Linked DNA regions of Homo sapiens: regions 1 and 2 are each linked to region 3. Evidence: promoter capture Hi-C in 16 types of primary human blood cells and fetal thymus (Javierre and others, 2016). All regions are on one chromosome and are shown on one strand. The core of a region is centred on a gene start or on the middle of the fragment in contact, and the rest is flanking DNA. Distances in the headings are between cores, read along the strand shown.

The links. Contacts are between HindIII fragments. The CHiCAGO score rates a contact against its expected background, and 5 or more counts as called.
Region 1: the fragment with the promoter of DDX59 here is called in contact with the fragment with the promoter of NEK7 in region 3 in 3 of 17 cell types (total B cells, fetal thymus and erythroblasts); the score reaches 8.4 in total B cells.
Region 2: a contact is called between the fragment with the promoter of KIF14 here and the fragment with the promoter of NEK7 in region 3, in 1 of 17 cell types (fetal thymus). The highest score is 6.5, in fetal thymus.

What each region holds. Positions count from the first base shown.
Region 1 is chr1:200,668,657-200,671,356 of GRCh38, forward strand. DDX59 (DEAD-box helicase 59) reads right to left here and starts at 1,251. Exons shown (of 8, transcript NM_001031725.6): 1 at 1,111-1,251. DDX59-AS1 (DDX59 antisense RNA 1) reads left to right here and starts at 851. Exons shown (of 3, transcript NR_110787.1): 1 at 851-966. RefSeq lists a silencer at 665-1,404. The HindIII fragment of the contact is 3,439 bases long and covers 1,091-2,700 here.
Region 2 is chr1:200,619,295-200,622,032 of GRCh38, forward strand. It overlaps KIF14 (kinesin family member 14), which reads right to left and starts at 1,457. Exons shown (of 30, transcript NM_014875.3): 1 at 1,117-1,457. RefSeq lists an enhancer at 725-1,226 and a silencer at 1,395-1,544. The HindIII fragment of the contact is 3,652 bases long and covers 1-2,738 here.
Region 3 is chr1:198,155,715-198,158,414 of GRCh38, forward strand. NEK7 (NIMA related kinase 7) reads left to right here and starts at 1,284. Exons shown (of 10, transcript NM_133494.3): 1 at 1,284-1,562. RefSeq lists enhancers at 470-529, 1,960-2,009 and a silencer at 1,120-1,719. The HindIII fragment of the contact is 2,805 bases long and covers 392-2,700 here.

The DNA.
Region 1 (2,700 bases), core at 1-2,500, 2.5 Mb after region 3:
TTGGTGAGAATTCCCATCTCCCCTTGTTTTCCCTCCTTCCTTCCCAGATCCAGGAGATAATCAACTAAGAGCCAGGCACCCTTTTAAGTCCAATATAAAACAATTTACAACCTGCTCTCTCTAAAGTCTATCTAAGAGCTTCCTCTGCACAATAAAACTTGGTCTCCACAATCCTTTATCTCTAGCCTGAACATTCCTTTTTATGGATCCCAGGTCTTTAGATAACCTCAACCAGATAACGTTTACATTTACCGATTGAGTTGCCCCGCCTTTCTAAACTAAACCAATGTATTTCTTAAATGTATTTGATGTCTCACGCCTTCCTAAAATAGATAAAACCAAGCTGTACCCCAATTTCCTTGGGCACATGTTCTCAGGACCTCCTGAGGACTGTCACTGGCCATGGTCACTTGAATCTGGCTCAAAATAAATCTCTTCAAATATTTTTCAGAGTTTGATTCTTTTCATCAACCCATATCTATACCTTTTTACACCAAAAACATGTCTTTGCAAAATTACAGTTATTGGGAATAAGGCTTTTAACCTAATCTGGGGACTATCAAATATACTAATAAATATTTTTCTTAAAAAAATTCTTTGTTTAAACTGCCAGATTCCAACTTCCAGAAAAATTCCAACAGAAATGCAACCGAGGGTCTAGAATTACTATCCTAAATCTCCGAAAATGTACAGGGGGTGGCGGGCGGGGCAGGGACGGCTCTAGGTGAGCAGGAAAAAGCTTGGAACTCAGTCTTCCAATGGCGAAAGGGAACGTGCTCCTGCTGGGCGGGACGGCGGACGGCTGGCGGCGGCGCGGCCTCCAATTCTCGCCAACGCGCCCCGCACCCCCGTGCACTGGCGGGCCCTCCCCTCGGGCGTTGCCTCCCACCCACGCCCGGCGGCACCGCACCCCGAGGCGCTTCACGTCACGGAGCTGCTAGGAGACGGGCGGGGCTCCGGTTCCGGGTAGAGGCCTGGGACACGGGGAACTGTAAGGATGGGAGGAAGGCCGCGCAGGGGCACCAGTTCTGCCGCCGCGGCCTAGCGCCCCAGGTCCCGGAGAAGGGGCACCAGGGCGGCCAGGGGCCCAAGCTTCCGGGGCACGCTCACCCGCGCAGGACTGAGGCCGCGTCCGCTCCCGCTCCCGCTCGGGCCGTCTCCCCCTTCCAGGCTCCAGGCCAGGCTTCCGCCCGACAAGCCCTGACCCGCTCGTCAGGACTGCGGCCCGGGGTTGGTGGTGCGGAGCGGAGCGGAGCGGAGCGTAGAGTAGAATCCACTTCCCCGGGTTTTGGGAGGGGGCCGCAGCCCGCTTTCCGGGCGGCGGGGAGGCGGGGCCACCGCGGGGGCGGAGCTCGGCTGGGAGCCGGCAGTGGCTTGGGAGGGAGGGAGGGAGAAGGAGAGGGGCGGGAAGGCTCCTCGCGTTTTCCACGCCCCCGCCCAGCTCTGGGCTGGTGGTAAATCTCGGAACTGGTCCGGGCTGGGCGAGTTCTGGACGGAGGGGCACGTTTGGGAATCCTCTTGGAAGAATTTACGTAATCGAATGGGCTGGGACTGGTGGAAAAGAGTTGGACCGTCCGGAAAGAAGCAGGAGGGCGGCGCGGGGGCCTGGCACCCTTAGAAAGTGGGAAGTGTGAGTGTAAAAGGGAGGGGCACTTCTGCCCGTTGGGCCCAAAAACCCTTTTCTGGCTTTAGCTAGTAGAGCCACTCAAAATTTAAACGGAGTCAGCTTGATGTGGCATATATGATAAGCTGGATAATATTTCCTGCACCACCGCACCCCTCCCCCCACCCCAACACCAACAAGAAAATAACACAAGTCACGGTTCTTGTTCCTTGTGGGCTGACATTTCCCTGTTTTGCCAACCTCTGGAGCCACGTGTCCCAAGCAGCTTGTAGTTGAGAAGTGATGGGGGAGAGGAGACAGCACGGGAGAGGAAGGAGGGAAGCCAGCTTATATTCAGGTGCCTTAAGTATTTAAAAATATTTTCAGTGTAATAGTCGATGCATTCAAAAGAGCATATTTACCAAATATGTAAAATTTAAAGTATGCTAATGAAACTATCACTCCACCACGTTATCAGTATTTAGCATGTATCTATGCATCTCCAGGATTCTACTCCTGGCCTCTTAGCTCACCACCACTATCTTCAGTTTTGTCCCTCTTTGCCATTTTTAGTGGTTTTATCATATTTGGATGCATTCCTGTGTATTGGTGTATTTTTCTTCTTTTTGAGCTTTATAAAAATACATATAGCCTGGAATTCGCTTTTTATCACTCAACATTTGTTTTTTTGGTTCATCCAAGTTGTTACGTGTAGTAACAGAACATTTATTTCTTACTGCCTAGTCAAAAGGAAGTTTTCTCCTGTCAGGAATGTATTCAATACTGTAGCGGATAGGATTATAAATGCACTTTAAGTATTTTCTTTATTGATGGGAACCACACAGACTAAATGTATCAGACTTCCCAAGTTCGTAGGTCACATACCTATAACAGAACTCTTTTCCTGGGTTTTGTGACATTTCTAATTGTTGTAATTTCTTTTGCCATTATAAAAATTAGTCACTTTTGAACCTAATTTGTATTCATCATTCTGAATCTTTTTCTTTAAAAGCCTCCTCTTTTCCAATTATATAAGCTCATACCCCATAAAACCTGAATCTGCCCCTAGTAATTACTAATAAGGCTAGTAGGAGCAT
Region 2 (2,738 bases), core at 207-2,706, 2.5 Mb after region 3:
CTACACGTATTTTTTTTTTTTGCCAATGTTCCATAAGAAGGTTTATTTTATTTTATTTTTATAAAAATATTTTTTTTGAGATGGAGTCTTGCTCTGTCACCAGGCTGGAGTGCAGTGGCACGACCTTGGCTTGCTGCAACCTCCTCCTCCTGTATTCAAGCAAATCTCCTGCCTTAGCCTCCCAAGTAGCTGGGACTACAGGCGCCCACCACCATGCCCAGCTAATTTTTGTATTTTTAGTAGAGACGGGGTTTCACCATGTTGGCCAGGATGGTCTCGATATCTTGACCTTGTGATCCGCCCGCCTCGGCCTCCCAAAGTGCTGGGATTACAGGCGTGAGCCACCGCGTCCGGCCCATGTATGTTGAATACAGGAATGCCTATAGAGAAGATTGAATTGATTGGTGTCACGAGGCAGATTATTCCCAAGTACCACAGGCAGTAAGTACGATAAGTACTGTAAATTAATTGTGTTGAGAAAAACCATGCAAGATTAGATAAACAGACAACCTGCCCTTTAGCAGTAAGACAACAAATTAGACAGAGGTGTATGTAAATATACAGCAACAATATCTATCAGGTATTAACGTTTTAAAGAAAGGGAACAGCAGTGACAGCTAAGAGACCTGGCTTTTAGTCAGCTTTGTATCCAACTCCTTACAAGGATGTAAACAAGACTTTAAATTTGCATGCCGGGTTCTAACCTGTAAAATGACACTGGTTCAAACTATTGCAAAGATTATTGCTAGCGAGGAACAAATTAATGGAAGTTCATTTTTAAATGAGGCTTTTAAATTTTTACATAAATAACAGTCATTACAAAAAAAATTCGTCAGCTTATAAGCATCTCCCATCAACGTTTCAACTCAAAATACAGAATTTTCCTGTTATGAAATGAATTTAAAGGCAAAAAGAAGATTCTGGAAATTCTCTTGCAACTAAAAACCATTTGCGATTTGCACAAATCAATACGGTTTCTGTTTGAGGAGTTTCGCCATCAGATTTTAAAGAGGACTGGAAGGAATACAAGGAAAATAAGCACAATCCAAACCAAAACATCCGGTGATTCTGTTCTTTCTCTGCTAGTCATTACCAGGGGCTATGACTAAGAATTACCTCTTAATGCCAACCGACTCGGGGAGACTCGGGGAGAAGCCCACGGGCCGAGAGGCCCTGAAGTCCGGCTTCCCGGTCCCAGCAGAGACGCTGCCTTGCGCCCTTCGTTCGGGGACCCCTTCGCCGCCGACCTGGAATGCTGAGGAACTGAATGGGGGACTGGAGCTAAGACCACCCGCCCGCAGAGCAGTGGTCGCCTGTAGGGAAAGCGTCCGCACGCCCTCCCCAGTGCCGAAACTTCGCCCCTCCGCAGGGTCCGGCACCTTGGGGACCCCCTCGACACAGTCCCCACGCCACTCACCACCTCCAGCGCCGGCTCCCCAGAAGGCCGCAATTTGAATGGGCGCCCCGCCTTCTGATTGGCTGCTGGGCGTCGCGTCGGGTGCCGCGCCTTTGCTTCCACCCGCCCCCCGGAAGTGCCGGTGGTTGGGCTCCGGTAGCCGTCTCTGAATGCTGGACTCGCCCCACCCTCATCTCCCAGGCAACGCTCCCTCCCCTCCTCGGGTTCTGCTAAAGCGTGGAGCTTGGCCCCCTTTAAATCCGACCAGAGGAAGGGGCGGCGGTCGCGGGCGCAGCGGGCCCCTCGTTGAAGTGGGTGTCAAACGAAAAGCATGACAGTGACACTCTTGTCGGTCTTTAATCTAAAAGAAGCCATTACATCGAAGACTTCACATTGTAAATGGATATTTGCCCCCAAGTTAATCATAATAATTAACTTTTCTAGTGTTTCCTATGCAAGGCGTTCACGTAGGAAATATGCTAAATGTCTTATATGAATTTTTAAACAGTCCTGAAAATCTTGTGAGATAAATATTAATGTTATCCCTCGTTTACAGATGAGGAACTGAGGTTTAGAGTTAAACTTGTGAAAGATCAGACAATTAGCAGTGGCATAACTAGAACTTGAAGGTTCTTGCCGCCGTACAATGTAACTCCGTTTCAGTAAAAGTTCCCTTTTTTTAATTTTTTTTTTCTTTTTTGAGACGGAGTCTCGCTCTGCAGCCCAGGCTGGAGTGCAGTGGCCCCTGCAACCTCCGCCTCCCTGGTTCAAGCGATTCTCCTGCCTCAGCCTCTGGAGTAGCTGGGATTACAGGCGCGCACCACCACGCCCAGCTAATTTTTGTATTTTTAGTAGAGACGGGGTTTCACCATATTGGCCAGGCTGGTCTCGAATTCCTGACCTTGTAAGCTGCCAGGCGTGAGCCACTGCGCCGCCCAGCCCCCATAAGATTTTGAAATCTGAAAAAATATTACAAATACATTCTGAAAAATAACCAAATAAATGAGAAAGACTAGATAAATAGATATTGTAAAGCAACAATGTTTTTTAAACAGGCAAAAAGTACAGAGATATTGAAGAAGTATTCACTGAGATAGAGACCATAAGTAGCTCCAATTATATAGACCAACCAAACAGATGATAAAGTACTCATTCTAAATCTTACTCTAAAAATCATTCTAAAACTCAATTAAAATTAAGGTATAAGGAAACTATCAGAAAATAGAATATAATATTTATCAGGGCCAGGTGCGGTGGCTCACGCCTGTAATCTTAGCACTTTGGGAGACCAAGGCAGGCGGATCACTTGCAGTCAGGAGTTTAAAACCAGCCTGGCTAACAT
Region 3 (2,700 bases), core at 34-2,533:
CGCCTCGGGTTCAAGCGATTCTTTTGCCTCAGCCTCCCCAGTAGCTGGGATTATAGACTCCTGCCACCACGCTCGGCTAGTTTTTGTATTTTTAGTAGAGACAGGGTTTCGCCATGTTGGCCAGGCTGGTCTCGAACTCCTGACCTCAGGTGATCACCCCCCCCCCCACTTGGCCTCCCAAAATGCTAGGCTTACAGCCATGAGCCACTGCGCCCGGCCATTTTTCTTTTTAAAAATAAACTTTCCAGATCTTAATTTCATGGCTTTAACATTTTAAATGTTTGAGGTATAATCTACTCATTCTTGGCTCTAATCTTTTTGTCAGGGAAGTTAAACTAGTGAGAGACCTATGAACAACAGCAACAATTTAATGAGCACGTCTTATATGCCAAGCTTTGTGGTTAAGCACTTTGCTTTATCTCACTTAATTCTAACTATGGTCCTAGAGGTTGGTATTACAACTAATCTCCTTTTACAGAGAGTTACTGAGACTTGGAGAGGTTAAATAACTTGCAGCCAGGTCACAAAATTAATCACTGAGTTGAGACGACAATTAAGGTATGGCCGACTCCATACTGCCTCCTAGCCGTCTCCTCGAGTAGTTCATGCCCTGTTAACTTAAGTCGTGAAGCTGCTGGTGTCAAAGCATTCCTTTTGCAGTTTCGTGTACTAGGGTTCTGGGTGATTTTGCACATATTTATTTCAAAGATCCTCCGTACCACACCAGGGAGTTTACCTTCTGGAATGTTGTTGAAGCCCCTGTCCTCTATGCTGGGACACTTTCATGCAACGTTTGCTTAGCCAGACTCAGGAAAACGCCTTTTTTTTTTTTTCTCATTTCCCTGCACTCCACATTAAACACAGAGGTAGTTTAAATCACCTGGTAAAAGAAGATGGGATCACAAACGCTGTGGTCCAGAAGGGAACATCAGTAAGTCGGTTCACCGCTTGCAAGTGGGGGCACTTACATATAAATGAAGAAAAAACAAGTTCTTAAAAAGCAGCCGACCCTGGGTTCTTAAAAAGCAGCCGGGGAAGAGGGCTCAGGGGACCGGACGCGGTGCCCCGCACCACGCTAGGCCTGACAACCGGAAGAGAGGGGCCAGGAGGGGCTCCTCCAGAGCGACTTCGGCTCCAGTAGGGAAACCGCCGAGGCTCCCCCAGCTCCAGGGAGCGCCGGGGACGCAGGCGGGAAGCCTCCATCGGGCAGCCGGCCTGGACTCACGACGCGGGGTGGGGCCGGCGCCCGCCCCGCCCCTCTCCTCGGGGATGCCGGGATGTTTACACTCCTGACAGCGGCGGCAGCAGGAGGAGGATCGGGAGTCGCGGGAGGATGGGCCGCCGCTAGGCTCGCACTCCGGACGCGCCTCGCAGTGCGCAGGGTGGGTGCCCCGCGCCTGCAGCGTCCGCCGGGGCGGCGCGGCGGGAGGTGGCCGACAGGCTCCGGGCCTCGCAGCCTCAGCCCCCGGCCCAGCGCGCTTTCCGACGGCGGCGCCGCGCCGAGCCACCCGCCCGCCCAAGGTCTCTCGCGGGCGGGAGAACGGAAAACTCCCAACTTCCTGGTGAGTCGCTGCCCAGGGTTCAGGCGCCCGGACCGGGCAGCTCCTGCCGGGAGGGGCCGCCTGCGGGAGTCGGGCCGGGAGAGGGAGGTCGGGACCGCGCGGGGCGGCCTCCGGGATACCCTCGCTCGGGGTAGGTGGGGCGGGGCGCGCTGCGCTCGAGGCGGATGGGGGTTTCGGTCTTGTTCGTTGGCAGCGGTGGGAGGGGGCGGCAGGAAACTTCATACCTGGCCCCGGCTCTAGAGGCCCGAGGCCGCCAAGGGCGCCGCGGTAACTAAGAAACTCCGTGGCCACGGCGGCGGCGGCAACAGGTCTTTGGTTTCGGGACCCGAGGAACTTAAGCGAAGTCCCGCCTTCCGGCGGATGCTCATTGGCGACGTCGGTTATTTATCTCTCGCGGATTGGTGAAGTCCGTCTGTCAGGATTCGGCAGCAGCCCGACTTAGGAAAGTGAAGTGCGCTGGGAGAGAGTGGGTGGTGGGAGCCGGCAGATAGGGGAGAATCCGAAGTGGCTTCAGAAGTACAGGGAGCGTGAGAGGTCTGTCGGAGAATGAACTTGGGAGAGACTCGGGATTACAAAATGTCGGAGAGAGGGATTGCGAGGCAATAGCGAACATTGCTGGTGATGGTGGCAATGGAAAAGAAATTGAAAACTGAGGCCAAAGTCAGAGAAGGGTAGCCAAAGGAAAACAGAGAAAAGTGACAAGACCGTATGACCGCAGAACAGTGTAAGGAAGCGAGCACAACCTAGAGGATGCTGCCTTGAGAGCTAAAGAACTTCTGTTGCCTCTGTTACACTGTAGGCCTTCACTCCTAAAACCGCAGCATCCTCTATTTAGTCTTGCACTGGGAGCGTACTGGGGTCGCGGAGAGATGATGTATCGTGTTCTCACCTTGCTGTAGTCCTCACTGGGGAGAAATGCTAAAAAATATACTTAGTTTACAGTAAGATACATGTTACTGTCCTTGCGCAATTCTGGTGACTGAACTGAAAATCAGAAATACACAGAAATAAAATGATTATTCTCCTTTGAGGTTACTGAGCTCAAGGATGCAATTGAAAACACCACATTTCCATAGTTTGTAGAGCCTAATGTACCCATCATAATGGGAACCACTGTTTCTAGTTCCTCCTCCAAGGA